Linked DNA regions of Homo sapiens: regions 1, 3, 4, 5, 6 and 7 are each linked to region 2. Evidence: promoter capture Hi-C in 16 types of primary human blood cells and fetal thymus (Javierre and others, 2016). All regions are on one chromosome and are shown on one strand. The core of a region is centred on a gene start or on the middle of the fragment in contact, and the rest is flanking DNA. Distances in the headings are between cores, read along the strand shown. Region 1 has its middle 14 kb from the start of FANCD2. Region 2 holds the start of MTMR14 (myotubularin related protein 14). Region 3 overlaps FANCD2 (FA complementation group D2). Region 4 overlaps EMC3-AS1 (EMC3 antisense RNA 1). Region 5 overlaps EMC3 (ER membrane protein complex subunit 3). Region 6 has its middle 19 kb from the start of THUMPD3. Region 7 has its middle 4.1 kb from the start of IRAK2.

Evidence for each region. Contacts are between HindIII fragments. The CHiCAGO score rates a contact against its expected background, and 5 or more counts as called.
Region 1: a fragment that was not itself captured here is called in contact with the fragment with the promoter of MTMR14 in region 2 in 1 of 17 cell types (neutrophils); the score reaches 6.2 in neutrophils.
Region 3: a contact is called between a fragment that was not itself captured here and the fragment with the promoter of MTMR14 in region 2, in 3 of 17 cell types (neutrophils, monocytes and total B cells). The highest score is 8.5, in neutrophils.
Region 4: a fragment that was not itself captured here is called in contact with the fragment with the promoter of MTMR14 in region 2 in 1 of 17 cell types (neutrophils); the score reaches 5.9 in neutrophils.
Region 5: a contact is called between a fragment that was not itself captured here and the fragment with the promoter of MTMR14 in region 2, in 1 of 17 cell types (neutrophils). The highest score is 8.7, in neutrophils.
Region 6: a fragment that was not itself captured here is called in contact with the fragment with the promoter of MTMR14 in region 2 in 1 of 17 cell types (neutrophils); the score reaches 7.6 in neutrophils.
Region 7: a contact is called between a fragment that was not itself captured here and the fragment with the promoter of MTMR14 in region 2, in 1 of 17 cell types (neutrophils). The highest score is 5.9, in neutrophils.

Annotation. Positions count from the first base shown.
Region 1 is chr3:10,011,080-10,013,779 of GRCh38, forward strand. It overlaps a transcript of EMC3 not described here and the pseudogene MARK2P2. Among named protein-coding and RNA genes, the nearest start is that of FANCD2, 14 kb to the right of the region's middle. RefSeq lists a silencer at 40-269 and an enhancer at 68-593. The HindIII fragment of the contact is 6,602 bases long and covers 1-2,700 here.
Region 2 is chr3:9,648,246-9,650,945 of GRCh38, forward strand. MTMR14 (myotubularin related protein 14) reads left to right here and starts at 1,260. Exons shown (of 19, transcript NM_001077525.3): 1 at 1,260-1,497. The coding sequence starts at 1,339. RefSeq lists enhancers at 855-1,084, 892-1,787, 1,074-1,243 and silencers at 1,115-1,224, 1,325-1,424. The HindIII fragment of the contact is 16,951 bases long and covers 1-2,700 here.
Region 3 is chr3:10,031,075-10,033,800 of GRCh38, forward strand. It overlaps FANCD2 (FA complementation group D2), which reads left to right. Exons shown (of 44, transcript NM_001018115.3): 3 at 1,758-1,898. Among named protein-coding and RNA genes, the nearest start is that of FANCD2, 6.0 kb to the left of the region's middle. The HindIII fragment of the contact is 752 bases long and covers 1,090-1,841 here.
Region 4 is chr3:9,992,725-9,995,424 of GRCh38, forward strand. The region is part of intron 2 of EMC3-AS1 (EMC3 antisense RNA 1); the gene reads left to right. It also overlaps a transcript of EMC3 not described here and the pseudogene FANCD2P1. Among named protein-coding and RNA genes, the nearest start is that of EMC3-AS1, 7.2 kb to the left of the region's middle. The HindIII fragment of the contact is 2,206 bases long and covers 328-2,533 here.
Region 5 is chr3:9,968,665-9,971,364 of GRCh38, forward strand. It overlaps EMC3 (ER membrane protein complex subunit 3), which reads right to left. Exons shown (of 8, transcript NM_001394674.1): 6 at 1,918-1,997; 7 at 1,055-1,137. Among named protein-coding and RNA genes, the nearest start is that of EMC3, 17 kb to the right of the region's middle. The HindIII fragment of the contact is 571 bases long and covers 1,061-1,631 here.
Region 6 is chr3:9,342,633-9,345,332 of GRCh38, forward strand. It overlaps a transcript of SRGAP3 not described here. Among named protein-coding and RNA genes, the nearest start is that of THUMPD3, 19 kb to the right of the region's middle. The HindIII fragment of the contact is 7,296 bases long and covers 1-2,700 here.
Region 7 is chr3:10,159,507-10,162,206 of GRCh38, forward strand. No RefSeq gene overlaps it. Among named protein-coding and RNA genes, the nearest start is that of IRAK2, 4.1 kb to the right of the region's middle. The HindIII fragment of the contact is 1,059 bases long and covers 912-1,970 here.

The DNA of each region.
Region 1 (2,700 bases), core at 1-2,500, 360 kb after region 2:
GAGAGTGCCCGCCTGTGTTGGGGCAGCAGCGCCTGGAAGGAGGCGGCCCCGGCCGCCCGCAGAGCTCCGCCTCCCAGGCCGCGCTCTGTGTCTTTGTCCAGGCTGGGAGGGGCCGATGGCCGTTAAAAGCCCCGCCCGCCGCCGCTCGCCGCCGCCTGGCCCCACCCCCGTATCCATGGAGACCCGACGCCGCCGGACTGCCTGTCAGCTGCAGCTCGGTAGCCTGGGGCCCGCCCCGTTCGCCCGGTCTGTCTTCCGCGGGCCATGCTACCCAAGCTGACTCCGACTGGAGTCACTGGGATACCTGTCCACGCCTCCTCTCCTGGGCCACTTCCCTGCGGGGCGGGCAGTAGGGCAGGGCGGGGTGGGAATCTGTTGTACTCAGGGAAGGGAATTGCCCCCAGGCCCAGAGAGTTTGGAGCCTGGGGTACTGCCACCAACAGCCCAGAACTCTCCCAGCTGGGCACCACCCCCCCACACCCGCCGCCAGAGTCTTCCTGCAGCAAGGCTCTCTTCAGGAGGGGCTGTGAATGTTTCCCCGGGGTGGGGCTAAGCCAGAGCCCAGAGGTTAGCCCCTGGGGCACGGATCCCCCAGGTCACTCACTTCCCACGGGCTGCAGTGAAGGAGGCTCTGAGGGGAGGATGGCCGGTTTTTCCCCTGCAAGGGAAGGCATTCCTGCTCTGGGGACTGCCTCCCTCTCCCTCTTCTGCCAGCCACCGCAGAAACTTGGCCAAGCTGACCACTCTGTCAGTGATCTCTGCCAGGGAGGCTGAAAAACATCCAGCCCCACCCGTGGTCCCTTCCTGCCTCAGGCTATGTGACAGTATGACTGCCCACCTATTTCTTCGTTTCCACTGGAAACACTAGTAAAACAATTCCTCAGCCTCGACCCCAGGGAGTGGCCCCCACTAAACCAGCTGACGTGGGACCCCTGGGTCAATGCTGGCCAGAAGACACTGCTGACACCATACAGAGACCCTGGACACCTATGCCCCCTACAACCCTGGTAATGGTGGCCATGGGATTCCAAGCAGCACACATCTCGGAATCAATATTCTCCCCAACAAAAAATACATATGTGATTATCCCATGGCCACGTACCTAATCCTGGGGTAGAGAAAAGTACAGAGGAGGAAGCGCTCCATCATTGGAGCACAGCCCTTCCTCCTGGGGGTCCCACCTGTTCTTCCCCATCTGACAAAGTCTGCCTTCCTTGTGGAACCAAAGAGGGCTCAAAGGGAGCCAGCTGTTCCCACTTTTAATTTTTGACTGCCCAAGGACGGCGAGAAGTGAAGGCAGAAGACCACCATTCCTGCTCAGAACTCTTCCTGGGCTGGGGGTACCAGTGCCCTGCCATGGACATATGGGGCCTTGGCGTCATACTCTACCATATGGTGGCCGGGGCCCTACCCTTCTATTCAGGGAACACGATGGACCTCAAGAATCAAATTTTCACAGGAAGCTACCACGCCTCACCATTTTTTTTCCCTTCAACTTGAAAGATTCATTCAAAAGTTACTAACACTAGAACCCAGGGAGTGGCCCCCACTGAAAGAAGTTTTGAGGGACTGGTGGGTGAACTGTGGTTAGGAGATGCCACGGACAACATACAAAGAGCCATGAGCCAACATACCACCCAGCTCATGGTGGCCATGGGATTCCAGGCCAAGAACATCTCTGTGCCAATCAAAGAAAAAGCGTTTCACTATCCTATGGCCACCTACCTCATTTTAGAACAAACAAAAGAAGCAGTCCACCATCAGACCATGGTCCCTTCCTCCTGGGGTTCCCACCTGTCCTTCTCTATCCACTGAAGTTTCCACCTTCTCTCTCCCACTGAAGCAGGCTCACAGCGAGCCAGCTTGTCCCATATTCAGCATTCAGCAGAAGACCACTGTTCCTGCCAGTGCCCCTGCCAGCCTGCAGAGGAAGCCGGACAGTTTTGGCAAAGCCCCCCAGCGTGACGCTGTGGCCTCTACCTCCACCCACACCACCAGCAGCAGTGGCAGAGACCCAGAAACGTCCCTTGCCCAGCGACAATCATCACAGGAAGCCAGTGTTGTCCAAGCTGGACAGCCTGAGGCTGTGACATCAGCCTAGCCAACAAGAAACTGGGGCTGCCGCAGCCGGACGCAGTGGCTCATGCCTGTAATCCCAGCACTTTGGGAGGCCAAGGCGGGAGGATCACGAGGTCAGGAAATCGAGACCATCCTGGCTAACATGGTGAAACTCCATCTCTACTAAAAATACAAAAAATTAGCCAGGCTTGGTGGCGGGCACCTATAGTCCCAGCTACTCAGAAGGCTGAGGCAGGAGAGTGGCGTGAACCTGGGAGGTGGAGTTTGCAGTGAGCCGAGATTGTGCCACTGCACTCCAGCCTGGGGGACAGAGTGAGACTCCGTCTCAAAAAAAAAAAAAAAAAAAAAGAAAAGAAAAGAAACTGGGGCTGCCACAGGGCTGCCGGAGGACGCATCTTTCACTTCTATTAAGATTTTGCTGCATGTGTCCACCGAAGAAAAGGAGGAATAAGATTGCTCCAACATAGTTGCACAGATGAAGACAAAAATCAGCTAGGTGGGGTGGTGAAGCCTCACTTCTTGCATTTTACTATTTACTATTTATTCTGTCTCTTTTTTTTTTTTTTTTTGAGGCAGAGTCTCGCTCTGTCGCCCAGGCTGGAGTGCAGTGGCACAATCTTG
Region 2 (2,700 bases), core at 10-2,509:
GGATAGATAAGCAGATGTTGATTATTGTTCAAAACCAGTTAATGGGTACATGAGGGTTCATTATACTATTGTCTCCACTTTTGCGAATGTCTGAAATATTCTAATAATAATAATAATGAGAGGCTTCTCATCACAGAATTTCAAGGCAGTCGCTTCACCTCCCTGACTCCCAGTTTCTACCTCAATAAAATAGGGCTGATGATATAATGCACTGTACTCACAGGGATGTTGTGAGCAGCAGGGGGAGAAAGGGTTTTATGAAATGTTGTGTTTTTGTTTTTGTTTTAGAGACGGAGTCTCATTCTGTCACCCAGGCTGGAGTGCAGTGGCGCGATCTCGGCTCACTCTCCGCCTCCCGGGTTCAAGCAATTCTCCTGCCTCAGCCTCCCGAGTAGCTGGGATTACAGGCACCTGCCACCACGCGCGGCTAATTTTTGTATTTTTAGTAGAGACGGGGTTTCACTGCGTTGATCAGGCTGGTCTCGAATGCCTCACTTCATAATCCGCCTGCCTCGGCCTACCAAAGTGCTGGGATTACAGGCGTGAGACACCGCGGCCGGCTGAAATGTTTTAATATTGGTAACCACTGCCATTATGGTTTCTAGTACTAATTTGTTGCCTCCAAGCGTTCTCTCCTCCTCGCCCTGTAATTTTTTTTTTTTCTTAAGACAGAGTATTGCTCTGTCACCCAGGCTGGAGTGTAGTGGTTCGATTTCGGCTCATTGCAACCTCAGCCTCATGGGTTCAAGCGATTCTCCTGCCTCAGCCTCCCAAGTAGTTGGGATTACAGGTGGGTGTCACCATGCCCGGCTAATTTTTTTATTTTTAGTAGAGATGCGGTTTCACCATTTTGGCAGCCTGGTCTCGAACTCTTGGCCTCAAGTGATCCGCCCGCCTCGGCCCCCCAAAGTGCTGGGATGACAGGTGTGAGCCACCACGCTCGGCTTCCCTGTAATTGTTGATTCCACTTTTCCTCTGGTTCTTTTCAATGGTTCCTTCCTGCTACCCCCCTCCCCCGGCAGCCCAATGGTTGAGCCCGGCTTCCCCGGGGGAAACCCCTTGGGGCGGATCACGCGGTATCAGCCAGTGGCCTCCCTGGTGGATAGAAGGATCGCTCTGCGCCGGGGGCGGGCCAGTAATCGTAGGCGGGGCGCGGGTCCAGAGCTCCGATTGGCCAGAGTCGGAGTAAACATCCGGCGGGACGGGGCGGGGCCGGAAGTGGAAGTGGAAGTAGAAGGCGGTGGCTGAGGCGGTTCCGGAGGTTCTAGTGTCGGAGTTGGGTGCAGGCAGGTGCCATGGGCCCGCTTGAGGCACACTGAGGGGACGCGGGGCTGGGCCATGGCCGGCGCTCGGGCCGCCGCCGCCGCTGCCTCGGCGGGGTCCTCGGCCTCTTCAGGCAACCAGCCGCCTCAGGAGCTGGGGCTTGGGGAGCTGCTGGAGGAGTTCTCCCGGACTCAGTACCGGGCCAAGGATGGCAGCGGGACCGGCGGCTCTAAGGTGAGATTGGAGGTGCGATGAGCTGGGGAAGGCTCCTAACTTGGGAAGTTACAGAGGAAAGGCTGAGGCCAGGGGTCAGAAAAAGGTAGGAGTGGTACCTCGCCGCTGAGGAAGAGGAGAGAGAGAGAGGAGTTCTCCAGGGTCTGTATCCGGAGTATAAGAGTCGGTCTTGACAACCATAAAAGGAGGAACTGGGGTCAGAATGAGCCCAGCAAAGAGGTCCTTCTTGTTTGAGAAGGGGTCTGGAGGTGAGAGATCAAGCTGAGGGGCCAGGTTCAAAGATCAGAGAGGAGGACCTAAGGAAGGTCTATTCCCTGCTTCAGGTGCCGTAGGATGAGTTGTGTCAGGGAAAAAGCCCCAAGAAAAAGCTAAGAAAAATAGGGAGACGATTCCTCGGGGTCAGAGGTCAGAATGGAGCCAGGAGGTGAACCCAGTGTGCTGCCCCCTTATAAGGTCTCAGCATGACTTAGGCCCATCCCTTTCCTTCCCCTATAGAGCAGGAAGACAACCCACACTCCCTTTCAGTTCCTTTATCTAAAGCAGGTCTCCGTTCCTCTTTTTGCTCCCTTTGGGATTTCCACCCAGTCGTCTTATCGCCAGACCTGGAGGGCTTCCTGTCAGCTCAGGCCATCCCCACCCTAAGCACTGGCTGGCAGTGCGGTGGGAATCTTGCCGACCCTGCCATCTCATTCCCCCACGTGGTTTTGGCAGCTTTAGCACCAAGTTTTCCAGTGGAATTCTGTTCCATCCTGCACCACAGAACTCTGATTTGACCTCAGAGATTACCGTGAGTTGCTATTCTGTAGTTGGCATCTTGTAGTCTCTGAAGTAACCCAGGGAAGACTTCAGTAAGGATTGGACTTCCTCACTCTCCAAATGGCCAAGTAATTTTTCCAAGTATAGTCTGGGGACCACCTGTTTAATGATCATCTGGGGTACTTTTAAAATTTGTGCTTATGGGATACTTTGTGAAAACAGAGATTCCTTAGTCCCACCCAGTCCTACCAAGTCAGAATTTCTGGGGGTGGGATCCTGGAATTTGCTTTTTTTTTTTTTTTCTTTTGAGAAGGAGTCTCGCTTTGTCGCCTAGGCTGGAGTGCAGTGGCGCAATCTCAGCTTACTGCATCCTCCGCCTCCCCAGTTCAAGCAATTCTCCCTGCCTCAACTTCCCAAGTAGCTGGGATTACAGGACCCCACCACCAC
Region 3 (2,726 bases), core at 216-2,715, 380 kb after region 2:
ATTAAGTTTATTAGAAGGGATTTGGGTTCTCTTGGTCAGTAATGAACAAACTGAAACTTTCATTCTGGTTGTGTTTTACATTTCATTCAGGAAGGTAGTGGTCTTTGTCTCATTCTGATTAAGGCTTTATTAGAAAGAGGGAAAGGAGGCCAGGCACGGTGGCTCACGCCTGTAATCCCAGCACTTTGGGTGGCCAAGGCGGGCAGATCACGAGGTCAGGAGATTGAGACCATCTTGGCTAACATGGTGAAACCCCGTCTCTACTAAAAATACAAAAAATTAGCCGGGCGTGGTGGTGTGCACCTGTAGTCCCAGCTACTGGGAGGCTGAGGCAGGAGAATGGCATGAACCCGGGAGGCGGAGCTTGCAGTGAGCCAAGATCGCGCCACTGCACTCCAGCCTGGGCGACAGAGCAAGACTCCATTTCAAAAAAAAAAAAAAAAGAAAGAGGGAGAGGAATTGAAGAAGGAAAAAACAAAATGGCATCATTAAGGGAGAAGAGTAAATTTTAAACTTGGCTTCAAGTACCTGTTTGTTTCTTGTTTCTTATTTCTTTTTATGGGTTGAAAGTCTTGGGATTAAACCTATCTGAGCATTGTAGTCAAAGATATGATACAAAGAACCTTCCCCATTCTGTCTACCCTTTATTCAGATCATTGAGTCTCAAATTTGGTGTGTATCAGGATTATTATCTGAAGAACATAAAAAATTCGGATTCCTAGGTCCCATTCCCAAGATTTTGACTCAGTAACTCTGGTATATGGCATGGAATATGCCTTTTTTTTCCTTTGAGACAGAGTGTCACTCTGTTGCTCAGGCAGGAGTGAAGTGGCGCGATCTGGGCTCACTGCAACCTCTGCCTCCCGGGTTCAAGTGATTCTCCTCCTCAGCCTCCCGAGTAGTTGGTATTACAGGCGCACGCCACCACACCCAGTTAATTTTGTATTTTTAGTAGAGATGGGGTTTCACCACGTTAGCCAGGCTGGTCTTGAACTCCTGACCTCAGGTAATCAGCCTGCCTCGGCCTCCCAAAGTGCTGGGATTACAGGCGTGAGCCACTGTGCTGGGTCGGAAATATGCATTTTAATAAGCTTCCCAGGGATTCCAGTACAGTGGTTTGCAGGCAACAGCTTGAGAGACACTGGCTAGTTTAGTATTTGGGTGGAAAACATTTCTGTGGGTTATTCTTGTTAGGCACTTATTTGTTTGAATTTATTTTTTTAGAGATGGGGATTTCACTCTGTCACCCAGGCTGGAGTGCAGTGGTAATATCATAGCTCACTATAGCCTCAACCTCCTGGGCTCAAGTTATTCTTCCGCCTTAGCCTCCGAAGTAGCTGGGACTACAGGTGTGCGTCTCCTCACCTAACTAGTTTGTGTGTGGAGGGGGGGAATGGGGGTGAAGGGGGGGAGATGGGGGGGTGGTCTCACTTTGTTGCCCAGGCTGGTCTTGAACTCCTGGCTTCAAGTGATCCTCCTGCCTTGGCCTCCTAATTTGCTGGGATTACCACATGAGCCACCTTGCCTGGCCAGAAATGGCACATTTTGAATTCTTCAAATGAAAATAGGTGAAAATAATTCTATTTGTTTGTTTTGGAAGCCACTATTGCTGAAGACAGTTTATTTCACTACAGCATCAATCCTAGTATAATTTTTAAGGACACATCAGTTTTCCTCTCATGATTATTATTCCTGGGTTTAAGTTTTAATTTTTCCTTTACTATTTGCCATATTCTTGAAAATTTTTCTATTTTCAGAAACCAGGAAGCAACCACTTTCCAAAAAGACAAAGAAATCTCATATTGCTAATGAAGTTGAAGAAAATGACAGCATCTTTGTAAAGCTTCTTAAGATATCAGGAATTATTCTTAAAACGGGAGAGAGTCAGAATCAACTAGGTAATATTTTAATCTAATTTTATTCTCTGGGTTTAATGAAATAGTTCAGGACTGAATCATGGGTTTTCTAAATAGAGAGGCAATGAAGATTAGAAATCAGAGGGCCATCCATCTTGAGACAAAGTTGAAATTGCTTTTTAGAAAATGGTACAGTCAGGCCGGGCGCGGTGGCTCACGTTTATCATCCCAGCACTTTGGGAGGCTCGAGGCAGGCGGATTGCCTGAGCTCAGGAATTTGCGACCGGCCTGGGCAACACGTCTCTACTAAAATATAAAAAATTAGCCGGGCATGGTGGCATGTGCCTGTAGTCCCAGCTGCTTGGGCGCCTGAGTCAGGAGAATTGCTTGAACCCGGGAGGTGAAAGTTGCAGTGAGTCAAGATCGCACCACTGCACTCCAGCCTGGGCGACAAGAGTGAGACTCCATTTCCAAAAAACAAAAATGGAAAAAGAAAATGGTACAGTCTTTGGTCCTCATTACTATGTCTTAAGTAAAGCATTTCTCATCCTTTTATTAGAAAAAATATTATATATTATTTATTTTGTGTTTTCTTATGAAAAAATAAATATCCAGAAAGCAGCTGTATCAGTGTCAGAATAATTTCAGAAGAAAATTTATAAAGCCATATAAGATTCTGTTTTGGGGGAGCAGATTATTCTATCTTGCTAAGGTTATGGCAGGTCTTTTTTAGAACACTTAGTGGCTATCTGCTATCAAAGCTAAGTCTTTTTTTTTTTTTTTTTTTTGAGACGGAGTCTTGCTCTGTCGCCCAGGCTGGAGTGCAGTGGCGCGATCTCTGCTCACTGCAAGCTCCACCTCCCAGGTTCA
Region 4 (2,700 bases), core at 181-2,680, 340 kb after region 2:
GGTTTTGTGAAAAGTGTAGATACTACCAGGGGAGTGTGTGGAACAAATGAGCATCATCCATTGTGTGTTTTAATTAGAGGAAAAGCTGCTGTTTCATTGTAGCAAATGTACTGATTGGTTAACTGTTTTTCTATTATTGCATATTTATTGACCTGGTGATGCTTTTCATCATCTATAGCACCAATACTCAGACAAAGAAGTACATTGAAAGGGTGCTAAGAAATAAGATTCGATCAGGCTGCATTCAAGAACAGCTGCTCCAGAGTACATTCTCTGTTCATTACTTAGTAAGTGTCAGAGACTATTGATTTTTAATCTAAAACAGAAAGCTTTACAGCTCTCATGTAAAATTTCATCTTATTTCAGTCCATTGTTCAAACCCATTGAAATTTTTGAATTTTATTTTTGCATTAACATTTTAATTGTCTATCTCAATGCAGTTTGCAATTATGACAAACTAGCCTTTCGTATCCTATTCTAAGTAGCTTATAAAAACCTTGAGGGGAATAGGACCAGGCTGTAGAAACTAGTAGAAACGTAAATATGGACCTATTTGAACTATCACTCTTTGGCCATTCAAAACTGGATTTTAGGTGATAATTCCTCTGGAAATGTAAATTATTCAAACTGGAATTTATAAACTGGGAATAATGTTTTGCTGGCTGAACGTTCAGTATATTAACAGTATAGAACTTAGAAAACTGGATGGGCCAGTAGTTTGGGGTTTGGGTTAGGAGCTAATGAGAATACCTCATTGGATCTTACATTTTATATTTAGGAATAGATTTAATGTTTGTCTTATTTCATCTAGCAGTTCTTTTCTGTGTTTATTTCTGCCAGTTATATGTGTTTTGGGCTGTAATTTTCTAGACACGGAAACCATATGTAATTTTTCATTGCATTTTCCCCAATAAAGCATTATACCCAGCTTACTACTAAATGTAAGATTTTTTAAAATTATGGTATCAATAAGGAAGCTATGTTTATTAACTGGTTATTTACTCTGGGTCCATTAATGTCTATATATTGCATTATTGATAGAGCATGATCACTTCTTTTAAAAAAGTCAGTTTAGTTAGCATTGAACCTTATAGACCAACTTCAAATTATAACCAAGGTGGAACATCCCTGGGGGGTCGTGTGATTGCATGAGGAAACCGGGATTTAGAAGATCTGGCCTCCAATCCCAAATCGAGCAGATAGGAATGTACTATTAGGCTTATAACTTAACTTCTTTGAGCTTAACAGTCAATTAATATCCAAATGTGGACTCCCATTGATCCTGAGAGAAAACTCAGAATGGTGAAGGATTATTCTGTGTAAAACAAAGATTAAGATTTCTTAAGTTAAAATGAGAGTTGGGGAAGAGAAGTCTGATCTGACATTCCAAAAGGATAAGCAACTCTTAGGTTGTGTACTGTTTCCTACAGCTTCTTTTCTCTCTCTACTCTTCCCCACTCAAGGTTCTTAAGGATATGTGTTCATCCATTATGTCGCTGGCTCAGAGTTTGCTTCACTCTCTAGACTAGAGTAGAATTTCATTTGGCAGTCTCCTATACAAATAATGTGTTTATGTTTTTTGACACATACTGCCAGCAGGTATGTTGAAATACTTATTTTGGCAAGGAGGGAACAGAGGAAGGAAGAATCATCTAATGCTTATTTTTTGTTGGTTGGAACTTACTGAAGGGAAAGTAGCTCTGAACTGGGTCTCAGGAAAGCTCAATTTTACTCCCAGCCTTGATGAAATGAAGAGATTTGACTGGTGGATCTAACTCTGTGTTCTGAACTCTAAAATTCTCTTGTCTGAAATTAAGATACAGATTTGGTCTATTTCAAAACATGAGACACTTTTTTTTTTTCAAGACAGAGTTTCGTTCTTGTTGCCCAGGCTGGAGTACAGTGGCGCAATCTCGGCTCACTGCAACCTTCGCCTCCCGGATTCAAGCAGTTTTCCTGTCTCAGCCTCCTGAGTGGCTGGGATTACAGGCGCGTGCCACTATGCCCAGCTAATTTTTTGTGTTTTTAGTAGAGACAGGGTTTCACCATGTTGGCCATCCTGGTCTCGAACTCCTGAGCTCAGGTGATTCACCTGCCTCGCCCTCCCAAAGTGCTGCAATTACAGGCATGAGCCACCGTGCCTGGCCGAGACACATTTTAATAGCATATATCCAGAGAGAGAGGACTGTATTTGTGGAAAATGTTTATGAAAGCAAGTAAAGCACAGTGTCTTATTTTGTATTTGTACATATATTCTTCCTATTAGCAATGTTAAAACGCATCTGAATGGAACTTTTAAAATGAAGATTTGTAAAAAAAATTGTAAACATTTAAAATAGAGCAGTAGTTGCAGCTGACATGAGGTAGCTGTTGTAATTGAGAATTCTGTTATGACTTATGGAGTGACGGTATAAAGGGAGAATGGCATCTAAGACATTTCTGGACCCTCTTAATGTCTTAGAGACACTGTCATGATCCATGTTTGCTTGGAAACATGCAAATCTAGCCTGTACTATATGGAGAAAACCTTTAAAGCTTTTAGCTCCTTGAGTGGCATCTTTTTGAGGAATTTCAACTGATCTTGTACAACCTCAACCTAAAGGGTAAAATTTAACCCATATGGGAAAAAGAAAGAGGAAAACTACGCCCAGGAGCAAAATCAGGAGGGCTTAGGTAGAGCTCACTGATAAAATATGGGAA
Region 5 (2,700 bases), core at 96-2,595, 320 kb after region 2:
GACGGAATCTTGGTCTGTCATCCAGGCTGGAGTGCAGTGGCACGATCTTGGCTCACTACAGCCTCCGCCTCCCAGGTTCCAGTGATTCTCCTGCCTCAGCCTCCTGGGTGGCTGGGATTATAGGCACATGCCACCGTGCCCAGCTCATTTTTGTATTTTTTTTTTTTTTTTGAGACAGAGTTTTGCTCTTGTTGCCCAGGCTGGAGTGCAATGGTGCAATCAATCTCAGCTCACTGCAAACTCCACCTCCTGAGTTCAAGCAATTCTGTCTCAGCCTCCCAAGTAACTGGGATTACAGGTGCCCACCACCATGCCCAGCAAATTTTTTTTTTGTATCTTTAGTAGAAAAGAGGTTTCACCATGTTGGCCAGGCTGGTCTTGAACTCCTGACCTCAGCTGACCCACCTGCCTTGGCCTCCCAAAGTGCTGGGATTACAGGCGTGAGCCACCGCACCTGGCCCATTTTTGTATTTTTAATAGAGACAGGGTTTCACCATGTTGTCCAGGCTGGTGTCGAACTCCTGAACTCAGGTGATCTGCCCACCTTGGCCTCCCAAAGTGCTGGGATTACACGTGTGAGCCCCTGTGCCTGGCCGGAACTTCCCTTCTCTTTTAGTTTCTATCATGAAACACAGTGAGATTTTGTCCCACAAAAATCATACTAAATTTTGCAAATTCTAGAACCTTTTTGTGAAAAGGCTCTTAGTATTGTTTTTTTAATGCAATTTATATCTGATGTCTATGGGGTTCAAAAAGGTTCAAATTATTCTAAATGTTTACCTGGCACCTCCGATTGGATTATTTTACAGCATCATTGATAGTGTGGATTAAATTCCAGTGAGCATTTAAAAACCAGTAAAAGCACCAAGAATTTCCATTTACTTAATAGATGATTCTGTCTCAGGAAAGAGAGACGTGTAAACTATGTTTTTACTAAGTTTAAATTAAAACGATGGAACCACACAACACTCCCTTCAAGGAAGCTATTTTTAAAATAGCTCTTGGTAACACCTTTCAGAGCATTGCTGCAGCTTTGAAAGGTGAAGGAGTATACCTTGAAAGCTTTGTTTGTGTCTGCGGGCATGGCCATGGCTGCTCCCGTCATCTGCTCCTGCATCATTCGTGATTGGTCAGCGGCTGTAGCATAAGACACACTTACATGAGTGCCAGGACTCAGCAAGCACCCCAGCACCCAAGGGGAAGAATGGGCTTCACACAGATTAGAGAACTGGACTACAGCCTCACTGGCTGGCCCTGTCACCCACTGGCTATGTGACTCTAGGAAAGTCACTTTGTGTCTCCTGAAAAATGGGGACAGTAACAGCAAAAGAGAGATCACTAAAGGAAGCTCTAAACTTTATTTCAAATTTCAACAATAACAGCCACCAGTTATTGAGCAACTACTGCATGCCAAGTACTTCACTAAGTGCTTTGCATATTTTTCCTCATCTGTTCCTAACAACCCCACAGGTTAACTAATAAAGTCCTTATTTACAGATAAGTAAATAGAGAATTCGAAGTTAAGTAACTTGTTAAGTAACTTTTCTGAGGTCCCAGCCAGTAAACAAGAGAGCAAGGATTAGTACTGGCAAGGGCTCTAGTCAATGAACTGACAAACCAAGCCTTCTTTAAGCTTTAGGTTCACAGGCTTACACTGCTGGTGCTGGATCCCTCACATGATGGTATCAGACTCTGGGGAATCAAAATACTGTCCCAGTCATTGCCAGAGAGAATTGAGATCTTCAGTTTGACCCCCGGAATTTTTAAGACTCTTTCAGAATACCTCAGAAACTTAAGGAAGGAAACATTTTATTTGACTATGGTAACAAACAGCACAACCTACAAGACTTTTCTGGCTCTAATATGGATGATTCATCTATGGAAGTATTTGCTTAGTAAACCTGACATGCTTCTTACCATTATCTTGGCCCAGAATCAGAGAGTAAATGCTCCGAAGCCCAAATACATTGAGGAAGTACCAGGATGCAGAACTCACCCTGGCAAAGCAAAATGAAAATGGTGTGGTTAGTTATTATATCAGAGAGTAATGCAGTTCCCACTTCCCTACCACCCAAAGTTGTTCAGTGTTTGTAAAGAAGTCACCTTGGATGGGCTATATTCATCCAAAGCACAACCACAGAAGAAATACAAGTTGTTAAAGCAGTCTCACCAATACAGAACTATATTTCAAAAAATCCAAAGGTGACTCCCATTCTGAATTCCATTCCCTAGAGGAAATCACAAGTGTTGGTGTGTTCCATACTTTTTTTTTTTTTGAGACGGAGTCTCACCCTGTTACCCAGGCTGGAGTGCAGTGGCGCAATCTTGGCTCACTGCAACCTCTGCCACCTGGGTTCAAGAGATTCTCCTGCCTCAACCTCCTGAGTAGCTGGGACTACAGGCACACACCACCATGCCTGGCTAATTTTTATATTTTTATTAGAGATGGGGTCTCACCATGTTGGCCAAGCTGGTCTCGAACTCCTGACCTCAAGTGATCCGCCCACCTCAGCCTCCCAAAGTGCTGGGATTACAGGCGTGAGCCACTGGGTGTGTTCCATACTTACAAGAAGGGATGAGACATGGATTTCAGGAAATACAGTACCGAGGACTATAGCTACTGGGAGAGCCATTCCAAGTTTTGAACTATATCACTGAGGCTTCCTTTAGCTTAGGTTTCCTACTCAACCTCCATAAAAT
Region 6 (2,700 bases), core at 171-2,670, 310 kb before region 2:
GAGGTAGTAAGAAAAGAAAACACATCAACATGTGCCTATGGCACAGCAAGGAATAAAGTGGCCTTCAGTGCCTTTACTTAGACTCTTGAGGGCTTTCCCTACCTGAAAAACAGTGAATTGAAGATCAGATTTGAGAATGGCTTCACTCACCCTTGAACTTTGGTTACAACTCCATGAGGAGGCAGAAGAACCTCCAGAGTGTACTCATTCGCTTTTATTATTCTCATTTCCTGTGCCTGTTCTGATTACTTGCAGGTTTCACAGAAAGCTGAAATGAAAGCAACCTCGAACTTGTCCAACTGGTCATTCTTGCCAGGCTTTCAACCCAGACTAGCCCATTCTGGGCTGTCCGGGCCCACCATGCCTCTTCGATCTTCTCACTGGACTCCTTGTCCCCTGGCATCCCCTGCTCAGCTCTTAGTACATCTCCCACAAGCCCTTCAAACTGCACACATGCAAAATTAAATTTATTGTCTTCTTCCACAGTCTGATCCTCCTCTCATATTCTCCTTTTTGCTCAACTGTATGTCCATTAACGTAGCTAAACAAGCTGGAAAGCCAAAACCCCAAGTTTCTTCAAATGCGTATTTGAAGATACTTTAAGGATATGGAAGAATCATGCTGGCTCTTTGAAAGACCAATTTTATTATTGACTTGAAGGTGTGGTATGTGTTTATAGTCCTCGTAGGGCTGTTGAATATGTCTTAAATCAGCTTTTCCTTCTCCATCCACACCATGACCTTGGTTCTTACTTACATTGCCTTTTTCCCGAACTACTACAACAATCTCTCATCCAGTCTCTCTCATTCACATTCTCATAAATGCTGCCAAAGTAATCTTTTGTTTCAAGTATTTGTAAATACTTTTTTCTTTTTTATAGAAGTCATATATGTTTATTGTAGACATTTCAGAAAAATCCTTAATAGTACAAAAACACAATTACTAGTAGCATTGTATTATATATACTTCTAGCCATTTTCTATGAATAGGCATACATCTTTATATTAAAAAGATTATATTATGCATACTCTTATATGCTCTACTTTTAAATTTTTTGAGACAGGGTCTTTCTCTGTCACCCAGGCTAGAGTGCAGACACACAATAATGGCTCACTGCAGCCTTGACCTCCCAGTCTCAAGCTATCCTCCGACCTCAGCATCCCGAGGAGCAGGACTACAGCGCACAGTATCATGCCCAGCTAATTTTTGTATTTTTTGTAGGGACAGGGTTTTGCCATGTTGCCCAGGCTGGCCTCGAACTTCTAATCTGCCTAAAGTTCTAGGATTACAGGCATGAGCCACCACACACAGCCTGCCCTACTTTTAAAAATTATAATTAAAAATTAGTCTTGGGAACAATTTTTCTGTATCAGTAACACTCATTATCATTTTTATAATGAAAATAGCGTGGGCACGGTGTCTCACACCTGTAATCCCAGCACTTTGGGAGGCCAAGACGGGCAGATCACCTGAGGTCAGGAGTTGGAGACCAGCCTGGCCAACGTGGTGAAAGCCGATCTCTACTAAAAATACAAAAATTGGCTGGGCACGGTGGCTCACGCCTGTAATCCCAGAACTTTGGGAGGCCGAGGCGGGCGGATCACCTGAGGTCAGAAGTTGGAGATCAGCCTGGCCAACATGGTGAAAATCCGTCTCTACTAAAAATACAAAAATTAGCTGGGCATTGTGGTGGGTGCCTGTAATTCCAGCTATTCAGGAGGCTGAGGCAGGAGAATCGCTTGAACCTGGGAGGCAGAGGTTGCAATGAGCTGAGATCGTGCCACCGGACTCTAGCCTGGGCAACAGAGACTCCGTCTCAAAAAAAACCAAAAATAAAAACAATACAAAAATTAGCCAGGTGTGACGGCAGGCACCTATAATCCCCAGTTACTCAGAAGACTGAGGCAGGAGAATTGCTTGGAGCCGGGAGGCGGAGGTTGCAGTGAGCCGAGATCACACCACTGCACTCCAGCCTAGGTGACAAAGTCAGACTCCGTCTCAAAAACAAAAAACAAAAAAAAAGAAAGAAAGAAAACAGGAGATTTTATCCAATGGAAATAGCATCATTTGTTTAACCAACCCCCTACTACCTTTCTATATTTCCTAATATTAAAAAAATATTGGCCAAGCGTGGTGGCTCATGCCTGTAATCCCAGCACTTTGGGAGGCCTAGGCGGGTGGATCACGAGGTCAGGAAATCAAGACCATCCTGGCCAACATGGTGAAAAACCCTGTCTCTACTAAAAATACAAAAATTAGCTGGGTGTGGTGGCGTGCGCCTGTAGTCCCAGCTACTCAGGAGGCTGAGGCAGGAGAATCACTTGAACCTGGGAGACAGAGGTTGCAGTGAGCTGAGATTGCACCACTGCACTCCAGCCTGGTGACAGAGCGAGACTCCGTCTCAAAAAAAAAAAGCCAAGGAGGCTACATATTTAAGACTCTAAACCTGTTGCCAAATACTCTCCCAGAAAGGTCTTATCCAATACTTCTACCAGTAGAATGATCATTTTAATGTACAAGCCAGATTGTGACTCAAAGACTGGGAGAACTGTTGCAGGTTCAAGAACAGAAAAGCAGGCCAGGCATGATGGCTCACACATGTAATCTCAGCAATTCGGGAGGCCCAGGCAGGAAAATTGCCTGAGGCCAGGAGTTTGAGACCAGCCTGGACAAAACAGGGAGACACCTGTCCCTGCAAAA
Region 7 (2,700 bases), core at 191-2,690, 510 kb after region 2:
AGGACTAAAAACATGTAAAAGGAGTATATACTCCAAACAATAATGGTGATTCCTCAGGGATGAGGTTATGGGAAGGTGTTTGTTTTCTCTTTCTTTCTGTCTTTGACAAATATCACATGCTATCAGAGAAACCAATAAAGATATTTTTGTTAAAAAAAAATATAGCCGGGCGCGGTGGCTCATGCCTGTAATCCCAGCACTTTGGGAGGCCGAGGTGGGTGGATCACCTGAGGTCAGGAGTTTGAGACCAGCCTGACCAACATGGAGAAACCTCGTATCTACTCAAAATACAAAATTAGCTGGGTGTGGTGGCACATGCCTGTAACCCCAGCTACTCAGGAGGCTGAGGCAGGAGAATTGCTTGAACCCAGGAGGCAGGGGTTGCGGTTAGCCAAGATCACACCAGTGCACTCCAGCCTGGGCAACAAGAGCAAAACTCCGTCTCAAAAAGAGAGAAAAAAAAAGAAAAATATATGCAAAGTGCATAGAGAAGCTTTATTATTCTCCTTTCATCAGTCTTCCCTCCTGCTCCAGCTTTTTTTTTTTTTTTTTTTTTTTTTTTGATATGGAGTCTCACTGTGTCCCCCAGTCTGGAGTGCAGTGGTATGATCTTGGCTCAGTGCAGTCTCCACCTCCCGGGTTCAAATGATTCTCCTGCCTCAGCCTCCCAAGTAGCTGGGATTACAGGTGCGTGCCATCACGCCCAGCGAATTTTTTTGTATTTTTAGTAGAAACGGGGTTCCGCCGTGTTGGTTGGGCTGGTCTCGAACTCCTGACCTCAAGTGATCCACCCACCTCGGTCTCCCAAAGTGCTGGGATTGCAGGCATGAGCCACCATGCTTGGCCTCTGCCCCAGCTTTCTGATATGACTGGTTCTCAACTGTGCCAGCACATATTAGAATTATCTGGGAAGCTTTAAAAAACAGTAGTGCCTGAGCCCCACTCCAGAATAATTGAATCTGTCTCCCTGGAGGTAGGGCTAGGCATTTATACTTTTTAAAAGCACCCCAGATGTTTCTACTGTGCAGCCAGGGTTGCAAACCACTGACTATAATTTCAAGGGAATTAAACTTGAACAGCTCAAAATGACGTAAGTGTGTAATTAATTACATTCAGCCTCAATAACTGTTTCTAACTGATCCTGGTGGGTGTTGGTCATGGAAAATAGCCAGAGGAAGAAATTAACTGCAAGATCAGAGGAAATTTCTTGTGGTGAGGCAGTATAACACAGCAGAAAGAGCATTTGCTTTGGGTCAGACTTGAGTTGCATCCTGTTGATGCGGGACAGGCAAGCCCCCAAATTGGGGTTTAGCCTGGGAGGGTTCTTAGCTTCACCCAGAAAGGAATTCCAGGGCCAGCCAGTGGTGTTAAATAGCACCTTTTATTGAAATAGCAGTGTGCAGCCGCAGCAGAGGTACTGCTCCTTGCAGGGTAGGGCTACTCCATAGGCAGTGTGCCCAGAGTAGTGGCTCAGAGGCAGTTCTACAGTCACATTTATACACACTTTTAATTATATGCAAATTAAGGGGCAGTTTATGCAGAACATTCTAGAAAGGGGCGGTGACTTCTTGGAGTCGCCATGGCAATGGTAAACTGACAAGGTACACTGGTGGCAGTGTCTTATGCGAGGTACTTCCCACCACACCTGTTTTAGCTAGTCCTCAATTTGGTCCGATGTCCCAGCCATTCCTTTCGAGTCGAGTGCTGCCCCCTACCTCACTGTCACTTGGCCAACTTGGCCCAGTTACAATTGACTTCAGCCTCAGTTTCTTCATCTGTAAAACAGAAACAATAAACCTTTGCAGGGTTGTATGGATTACAGATAATGTATGCTAAATGCCTGCTAGGTGAGTTGGTAGGTGAAGGGCAACCATTAGTAATAGCAAAGACCTTACTTTGAAGAACTTATTCTAAAGAGTGGTAACTGAGATGTGTCCCTGTGATGACCTGCTCAGGCCCAAAATGACTCAAGCTTCTCTGGAAGACAGAATCCTAGGACACAGATCCCAAGCCCTGAGGCTGGGGTGAGAAGGAATTGCGGGAAGGGCCTGAGGATGCAGCAGAGAGAGCAGTGGGGGCTCCTCTGCCTTCCAGGATTGACCAAGGCTGAATGTGAAACTTCCGTGGTCTTAAAGCCTCACCCCAGGGAAGAGGCCCTGTGGCACTGAGGGAGGAGCTCTACACACACGCTGCTTGCGGAAGAGAAGGAGAAGCAGGTAGGGGACTCTGCAAAAAGAGAAAAGGAGAAAAAGAAGAGGATCTTTATTCTCTTTTACCCCCGTGTGCCTGGGATGGAGATGCTTCTCCACCCAGCCTATGGCAAACAATCATTACAGTTCCCAAGTCCACCTTCAGCCACTGCTGAAAACACAGGACTTCACTTGAAAAGTAGTCTCAGAACACTGAAATATGTCCCACTTTCAACATCAAGGAGGACATAATAGTAATCCTTTACTGGGCTCAGCACTTCACAGTTGATCTTGAGCGTTTTGGAGTCCATTTAGGCTTCATAACAATCCTTCCAAGTGGCTGCAGCAGGAGATCCAGTTTCCAAAAGGGAAAACAGAACTGGCTCAAAGGACTAAGAGCCGGAGAGTGGCTGAACCAGGTCTCCAAACTTGATAGGACTCCAAGGCCAGTGGGTGCCTTTTCAAGACCACTAATGACAGCTACCATTTTTTGGGCACATTCTCTGTGCGA